3 separate regions of the Homo sapiens genome follow, and all the other regions are linked to region 3. Evidence: promoter capture Hi-C in 16 types of primary human blood cells and fetal thymus (Javierre and others, 2016). All regions are on one chromosome and are shown on one strand. Each heading gives the region's core, a stretch centred on a gene start or on the middle of the fragment in contact. The rest is flanking DNA. Distances are from core to core; before and after follow the strand shown.

Region 1 (2,700 bases), core at 168-2,667, 2.8 Mb after region 3:
CCAGCTGCCCACCCTGAGCCTCAGTGTGCGCCTCTGAAAAGGGCAGAAGGACCCTCTCTTGGGGGTTGCTGTGAGCACTGAAGGAGACAGAAGGAAAACTTGGGGACTGCGTCCCGCTGTGTCAGCTCAGAGTGGCGGTGGGGATGGTCTTTTGAGTTTGGGATCGTCTCCAGCTGAGCCCCTCATCTGTCCTCCCGCAGCGGGTCCTCTGCCCGGGGGAACCTGTCTGGGAAGCCGGATGACTGGCCCCAGGACATGAAAGAGTATGTGGAGCGCTGCTTCACCGCCTGTGAGTCGGAGGAGGACAAGGACCGCACGGAAAAGCTGCTCAAGGAGGTGCTGCAGGCGCGGCTGCAGGACGGCTCGGCCTATACCATTGACTGGAGCCGGGAGCCCTTGCCGGGGTTAGTCTGGGTGGGGGACATAGGTGGGAGGGTGGTGCTGTGAGAGGCATGGGCTGGGTATGGAGGTAGGAGAGTTGCGGGTCCCAGGTACCAGGAGCTCCAAAGAGAAATGAACTGGAAAGTTGGATCCTGGGGGGATGAAGTCCTGGTTGGAGGGAGGCCGGTGGGGTGGGGTGGGGACCATGGGTGCTGGAGAGGCGTGCATTGCTCAGTGGTTAAGCGCACCCTCTGGAGACGGAAAACCTGGGTTCGCGTCTCATTTCTGCACTGTAGTAGCTGAGCCGCCTGGGGTAAGTGCCTTTCCTTTCGGAGGCGGGTCGGTACCTTGAGGGAGGTGGTGGCGGCTGTCCTGCCAGTGTCTGGCGGGGTTGGTGACGCCCTGCCCTGCTGTATTCTCAGGCTGACCCGGGAGCCTGTGGCTGAGAGCCCTAAGAAGAAGCGGTGGGAGGCCGCTAGCAGCCTTCACCCTCCTAGAGGGGCAGGCTCGGCGACAAGGGGCGGGGGTGCCCCGTCCCAGCGAGGGACGCCCGGGGCTGGGGGTGCCGGTCGAGCCCGGGGCAACAGCTTCACCAAGTTTGGCAACCGCAACGTCTTCATGAAGGACAACAGCTCTTCTTCCAGCACAGACTCCCGCTCCCGCTCCTCCTCCAGGTCCCCGACGCGCCACTTCCGCAGAAGGTACTGAGGCTCCCGGCTGGGGCTGTGTGTGAGGGAGGGGGAGGCGTTTCAGGCCTGACCCTCCTGCTTCTTCCTGCAGTGACTCCCACTCAGACTCCGACAGCTCCTACTCAGGGAATGAGTGTCACCCTGTGGGCCGCAGGAACCCGCCCCCTAAGGGCCGGGGCGGTCGAGGGGCCCATATGGATCGGGGCCGAGGCAGGGCGCAGCGTGGGAAGAGGTGAGACTGTGTGAGGGCTCGACACACGGGCCAGGGTGGAGGAGGGTACTGGGGACCCATGGGAGAAGGAGGAGGAGGGCCGGACAGGTGGACAGCCAGCTGCCAAAGGGGCGAGGCTGAAGGGGGGCTGGAGACGCCTGTCGCGCTCACTGCCCCTCATCCCTTCCTAGGCACGATCTGGCGCCCACCAAGCGCAGTCGAAAGAAGATGGCGGCGCTGGAGTGTGAGGACCCGGAGCGAGAGCTGAAGAAGCAGAAGCGGGCAGCCCGCTTCCAGCACGGACACTCCCGCCGCCTGCGCCTCGAGCCCCTGGTGCTGCAGATGAGCAGCCTGGAGAGCAGTGGGGCTGACCCTGACTGGCAGGAGCTGCAGATCGTGGGCACCTGCCCTGACATCACCAAGCACTACCTGCGCCTCACCTGTGCCCCCGACCCGTCCACCGTGCGCCCTGTGGCAGTAAGTGCCCAGCAGGGCAGTTCTGCTCTGTGAGGCCGTGCTGGCTCAGGACTTGGGGAGCCAACCCAGGGAGGGTGGCAGAGGCCACACGGGGGCTCTGGTATGGCAGGGGAAGCTCGGCCAGAGACGCCTCGGCTGGTCGGCATTCTGAGAGGAGCGCAAAGGCGCTCTGCTGCCCTGGAGCCCCGCGTGGCGGGTGTGCAGCTTGGCCGGCGAATCGCTTGACCTCTGGGCCGTGGTTCCTGGCTTAGGTGACACGGAGCATAAAGCCTTCTCCCAGGCCCGTGGGCTGTGGGGCGTGGGGGGCTGTGTTTCCAGTGTTTGGCGTAGTCACTGTTCTGCTGCAGAACCTGTGAACAGCCATGTGCTTATAGGGAAATGGGTGTGGAGGTGGCCACTCTTAACCCATGTCTTGTGGGTTTGTTTTCTCTTTTTTTGGGAGAGAGTCTGGCTCTGTCGCCCAAGCTGGAGTGCAATGGCGTGATCTTGGCTCACCGCAGCCTCCGCTCCCCGGCTTCAAGCGATTCTCCTGCCTCAGCCTCCCTAGTGGCTGGGATTACAGGCGTCTGCCACTACGCCTGGCTGATTTTTGTATTTTTAGTAGAGACGGGGTTTCACCATGTTGGCCAGGTTGGTCTCAAACTCCTGACCTCAGATGATCCACACACCTCGGCCTCCCAAAGTGCTGGGATTACAGGCGTGAGCCACTGCGCCTGGCCTTTTTTTTCTTTTTTTAATGTTGCAACTCTCCCACCAAATAAGTGGAAGCCGTTGGCCACGCTACCTGAGTTGTACTCCGAGTGTGAATTCAGTTCCCTTTTTCAGGTTTTGAAAAAGTCGCTGTGCATGGTCAAGTGCCACTGGAAAGAGAAGCAGGACTACGCGTTTGCCTGCGAGCAGATGAAGTCGATCCGGCAGGATCTGACGGTGAGACTCGCGCTG
Region 2 (2,700 bases), core at 96-2,595, 2.3 Mb after region 3:
GCTGTGACAGGGAATGGGCTGGAGATGGCGGGGGGGGGGCAGCTTGCAAACCAGTGGGTCTGATGTTGGGTGCATTAGAATTCCCCAGGGAGCTTTTAAAAACTTACATGCGCAGGCCACACTGCAGACCAACCATGTCGGACTTTCTCAGGTGGGACTCAAACATCCGAATTTTTAAGGTCCTCGGGTGATTTCCAGGTGTGTTGGAGGCTGCCCGAGGCAGGAAGGGGGCTTCCAGGGAGAGGAGGCTGACTGAGGGTGGCTGGTGATTCCGAGTTGCACAAACTGTGAGGGTCAGCTGGGATTTTCTTTTTCTTTTTCTTCTTCTTTTAATTTTTCCTTTTTAGTTGAAGAGAGGTTGAGAGATTTATTTTTTCCTAAGGAGAGGAAACTGTGGGGGACCATTTGGAGTGATGGAATGACAAAAGCCAGACCGGAGGGGGCTCGCGGAGGTTACTCCCACGGAAGTGGTGCTACTCGGGCTTCTTAAGTTGTGGAGACGCTCAGGGAAAAGTTGGGCTGACAGGGAAGGGTTCTAGCGGGTGGAGAGGTGGGGCTTGCAGGGGAAGAGTGGGGAGAGCTGGTGGGCGCCGCATGGTGATGGGGCGGGGGTCGCTAAGGAAGGAAGAACGCGACGGGGGCTCCTGGGGAGGAGGCGGCGGCGTGGGGCTTGGCATCATGGCGGGGGGTGGCTTCCCATGCGATGAGGATCGTGGAGCCCCCTGGGGCGGAGGCGGCGCGGGCTAGGGGCGAGGGCTGTGAGTGTGAGCGGTGGTGGGGACTCCTCCGAGTGGGGTTAGTGGGATGGTGGGACGACTTTCTTGGGCAGAAGACAGGAGTGGAGAGAGATTTCATCTTATTTATTAATTATTAGCGGTGGTGGGGACTCCTCCGAGTGGGGTTAGTGGGATGGTGGGACGACTTTCTTGGGCAGAAGACAGGAGTGGAGAGAGATTTCATCTTATTTATTAATTATTAGCGGTGGTGGGGACTCCTCCGAGTGGGGTTAGTGGGATGGTGGGACGACTTTCTTGGGCAGAAGACAGGAGTGGAGAGAGATTTCATCTTATTTATTAATTATTAGCGGTGGTGGGGACTCCTCCGAGTGGGGTTAGTGGGATGGTGGGATGACTTTCTTGGGCAGAAGACAAGAGTGGAGAGAGATTTCATCTTATTTATTAATTATTATTATTATTATTATTATTATTATTATTTTTGAGAAAGAGAAGCAGTGGAGCCCCGAGTGGAAGGAGTTTCTGGAGCTGAGGCAGGGATTTTGGGGGGGGGGGGGCGGGGACTGGGGGAGGTACCTGTGCCTTCTTCTCCTCTAATGCGAGATCTCGCTCCTTGCCCTCCACCAGCCGCCGACCATGGCCGCGCTCTGACCCCCTCCCCGGCCGCAGCCTCCTCCTCGCCGCCCCCCTCCCCAGCCCCGCCGGCCCCGGGCCCCCCGCTTCTGCCTGCGCTGTGAACCCCCCCCCAGCCGCCGGCACGGCCCCGCCCCCGCTGCCCCGGTGGTGGCCCACGGCCCCCCGGCTGCCCGTGGTCAAACTGGAGTCGCTGAAGCGCTGGAACGAAGAGCGGGGCCTCTGGTGCGAGAAGGGGGTGCAGGTGCTGCTGACGACGGTGGGCGCCTTCGCCGCCTTCGGCCTCATGACCATCGCCATCAGCACTGACTACTGGCTCTACACGCGCGCCCTCATCTGCAACACCACCAACCTCACGGCCGGCGGCGACGACGGGACCCCCCACCGCGGGGGCGGCGGCGCCTCGGAGAAGAAGGACCCCGGCGGCCTCACGCACTCGGGCCTCTGGAGGATCTGCTGCCTGGAAGGTAGGGTGCGGGCGGCCCTCCCCGCAGCCCCCGCCGCTCCCCTCCGAGAGACCCTGAGCCTCCCGGGGCTGCCTGTCCCTGATCCTGGGGCCCCCTTGGGCACCCCTCCTCCTCTGCCAGAGGGGCTTCTGCGCCTTCCCACTCGCGCCCCTGACCTCCTCTCCCCTCCTTCCCACTCCTCCCTGCGTCCTGGCACCCTGCGGAATTCCTCGGCATGCTCCCTCTGCAGCCCCTCTGCCTCTCCGCTGAACCCCCTTATCCTATCTTTCCCTAGTCCGTGTCTCCTGCGCTGCCCCATCACACCCCTGCATCTTCCCTCTCTCCAGTACCTGGGGCTCCTCCTGTTTCATTTCTTCCACTCTGCCCTGTGCCTTTTCTCTTTTTTTTTTTTTTTTTGACAAGGTCTCACTCTGTCGCCCAGGCTGGAGTACGGTGGCACAATCACAGCTCACTGCAGCCTCGAATCCCTAGGCTCAAGCCATCCTCCCACCTCTGCCTCCTGAGTAGCTGGGACCACAGGCATGAGCCACTGTGCCCAGCTAATTTTTTTTATTATTTGTAGAGATGAGGTCTCCTGTTGCCCAGGCTGGTCTCGAGCTCCTGAGCTCAAGAGATCCTCCTGCCTTGGCCTCCAAAGTGCTGGGATGAAGGGCATGAGCCACTGCACCCAGCAGCCTCTTTCTCCCTCTTTCCCGTCAGTTCATCTTGACCCTGCTCCTCCGCTCCACCTGCCCCTTCATTTCCTCTCCCTCGTGCCCCGTGACATCTTCTCTCTCCCGACATTTCCCCCCCAGTCCTCTGAAGTCCCCTGCCTCTCCCGCCCCCTTTCACGGCCCAGTCTTCCGGTCTGTCTCTTTCCCCTTCTC
Region 3 (2,700 bases), core at 168-2,667:
AGCCTCTTCCCCTCTCTGAGGCTCAGCCCCCTCACCTGCCAAATGGGGATGCTGAGGGCACCTCGCTCTCTGGAGTGGGAGGTGTCAGGGAGAGGACTGGTGCTCAGGGCCTGGTATGGGGTCAGCGCTGGGAGATTGTGGCTGTCATAGTTGTAAATGACCCAAAGAAGGGAGGAGAGAGGAAAGAAAGCACCTAGGGAGGCTCTGATGGTTGGCTAGCCCCTGGCCTCCTTAGCCCTGGGCCTGGAGTCTCTGCAGACTGACAGGAGGGTAGGTAGGAAGCAGGTGTGCCCAAAGGGCCAAATTACGAGACAAATGAGGTTCCCTCCCAGCCGGCACCCAGGAAGCCAGGTTTTCTATCAGGCCATGCCTTCCCCAGGAGGCCTGCCTGGCCGGAGGGAGGAGGGGCTGGGGGCAGGGACTCCTGGGTCTCTGGGGAGAAGGAGGCTTTGGATCTGGACTCATGAGTCTGAGGGAGGAAGGGGCTGAGTCCTTGGATTCCAGGAACATTTGGGGAGAAAAGGGCCAGAGGCCTGGATTCCTGGGTCTGTGGTGAGGAAGGGCCTAGACTTCTGGGTTCTTTAGGGAGGAGGGGGATGAGAGCCTTGACTCCAGGGTCCCTGATGAGGAAGGGGCTGAGGGCCTGGACTCCTGGGTTCCTTGGGGAGGAGGGGCCGGGGGCCCGGACTCCTGGGTCCTGGCACCCACCCGTAGAACCGACCTTGCGGGGCCTTCGCCGCACACAAGCTCGTGTCTGTGGGTCCGTGTCGGGGGCTCACCATCGCGGCTGGGGCCTCCCCGGCCCTCCCCCTCATCCCTGGTCCTCCTGGTCCCTGTCTGTCTGTCTGTCGGGTCTGTCCACCTGCCGCGCCCCCCGGGCTGAGGTAGGAGGTTGTATAGTTGAGGAGGACACCCAAGGAGATCACTATACGGCCTCCTAGCTTTCCCCAGGCTGCGCCCTGCACGGGACGGGGCCCGGCGGGGACCCCCAGCCCCACTCAGGGACCCTTAGCCCCACTGGGCTGCCCCAGGGACCCTGGGAGGAAGAGCCGGGCTCTTTTCTGTCCTTGTCCCTGCATCCCCTCCTTCCCCTGAAATCTGTTTTCCTTCCCTGTCTGTCTCCATCTCTGCTGTGTCTCTGTGGCTTCTGTGTCTCTTTCACAGTGGATCCTCTGACTCCCTCTTATTCTGGCTTTCTAGGTCTCTGCCCCTCCCGATATCTCTCTGTGTCTCTATTTCTGTCGTTTTTGGTCTTTCTGTCTCTGGCTCTCAGAATGTCTCTGTGCCTATCTCCATCTCTGACCCCCACCCCAGGGTCTACCGGGCCACCGCACACCATGTTGCCAGTCTCTAGGTCCCTGAGACCCTTTAACCTGTGAGGACATCCAGGGTCACAGGTGAGGTTCTTGGGAGCCTGGCGTCTGGCCCAACCACACACCTGGGGAATTGCTGGCCTGACTTCTGACCCCTGACTCCTCATACCCTTCCTCCAGAGCATGACATTTGACCACCAACTGAAACCTGACCTCTGACCCCAGACCACTGGCCCTTCCCCCGCCCTGTGGTGACTTCATAAAGGTTACTAGCTTCTCCCCTGGCCTTGAGACCCACACGATGGCCCTGCTGGCTCTGGCCAGTGCCGTCCCGTCTGCCCTGCTGGCCCTGGCTGTCTTCAGGGTGCCCGCCTGGGCCTGTCTCCTCTGCTTCACAACCTACTCTGAGCGCCTCCGCATCTGCCAGATGTTTGTTGGGATGCGGAGCCCCAAGCTTGAAGAGTGTGAGGAGGCCTTCACGGCCGCCTTCCAGGGCCTCTCTGACACCGAAATCAGTGAGGAGACCATCCACACTTCATCAGTGTCCTGGGGAAGGTGCAGAGGGAGGGCAGGAGAGGCCCAGAGGGTCAGGCTGAGGGACAGACAGAGAGAAACAGTCAGAGGAGAAAGGCTCAAAGACCATGAGAACAACAGAGACTTAGGGACAGAGAGACACAGACAGGGGAAGACAGCAGGGCAAAGACTCAGAGAGGGGAGGATGGAGAGTCAGAGAGGGGAAGATGGAGACTCAGAGAGGGGGAGGATGGAGACTCAGAGAGAGAGGAAGATGGAGACTCGGAAAGATGGAGACTCAGGAGTATGGAGAGTCAGAGAGGGGAGGATGGACACTCGGGAGGATGGAGAGTCAGGAGGATGGAGACTCATAGAAAGGGGAGGATGGAGAGTCAGGAGAGGTTGGAGACTGGAGAGGGAATAGAGACCCAGAGAGGGGAGGATGGAGACTCAGAGGGTGGAAGATGGAGACTCAAAGAGGATGGAAACCCAGAGAGAGGAGGACAGAGATGAGGCAGAGACTAGGGGAAGCAGGATAGCGACTGGTCGGGGGCAGAGACTCAGGGAGGATAGAGACTTGGGAGGGACTCAGGAAGCATAGCGACTGTGGGGCAAAGAGTCAGAGAGGGGAGGATACAGACTTGGGAGGGCAGAGACTCAGAAACAGAATGTTCGCATTAGGGACATGGTGTTGCGGGGAGCTGCCTCCCCCAGCCCCTGCTCCCTCCCTCACCGCCAGACTATGATGAGAGAAGCCACCTGCATGACACCTTCACCCAGATGACCCATGCCCTGCAGGAGCTGGCTGCTGCCCAGGGTGAGTGTGTGGGGATGGGGAGATGGGAGATGTGGACTTGGAGCCCCTAAGAAATGG

What was found. The method cuts DNA at HindIII sites, captures the fragments that hold promoters and counts their contacts. A CHiCAGO score of 5 or more calls a contact.
Region 1: a contact is called between a fragment that was not itself captured here and the fragment with the promoter of SPACA6 in region 3, in 1 of 17 cell types (non-activated CD4 T cells). The highest score is 7.1, in non-activated CD4 T cells.
Region 2: the fragment with the promoter of CACNG8 here is called in contact with the fragment with the promoter of SPACA6 in region 3 in 3 of 17 cell types (activated CD4 T cells, naive B cells and naive CD8 T cells); the score reaches 8.2 in activated CD4 T cells.

The regions. Positions count from the first base shown.
Region 1 is chr19:54,455,164-54,457,863 of GRCh38, forward strand. It overlaps LENG8 (leukocyte receptor cluster member 8), which reads left to right. Exons shown (of 16, transcript NM_052925.4): 8 at 201-404; 9 at 804-1,082; 10 at 1,162-1,302; 11 at 1,473-1,758; 12 at 2,584-2,685. Among named protein-coding and RNA genes, the nearest start is that of LENG9, 7.3 kb to the right of the region's middle. The HindIII fragment of the contact is 6,641 bases long and covers 1-2,700 here.
Region 2 is chr19:53,961,592-53,964,291 of GRCh38, forward strand. It overlaps CACNG8 (calcium voltage-gated channel auxiliary subunit gamma 8), which reads left to right and starts at 1,346. Exons shown (of 4, transcript NM_031895.6): 1 at 1,346-1,834. The coding sequence starts at 1,552. RefSeq lists an enhancer at 187-707. The HindIII fragment of the contact is 5,876 bases long and covers 1-2,700 here.
Region 3 is chr19:51,691,913-51,694,612 of GRCh38, forward strand. It overlaps SPACA6 (sperm acrosome associated 6), which reads left to right and starts at 1,418. Exons shown (of 9, transcript NM_001316972.2): 1 at 1,418-1,828; 2 at 2,566-2,643. The coding sequence starts at 1,615. It overlaps SPACA6-AS1 (SPACA6 antisense RNA 1), which reads right to left and starts at 1,544. Exons shown (of 2, transcript NR_108100.1): 1 at 722-1,544. It overlaps MIR99B (microRNA 99b), which reads left to right and starts at 700; the gene lies at 700-769. MIRLET7E (microRNA let-7e) reads left to right here and starts at 874; the gene lies at 874-952. It also overlaps MIR125A. The HindIII fragment of the contact is 8,848 bases long and covers 1-1,765 here.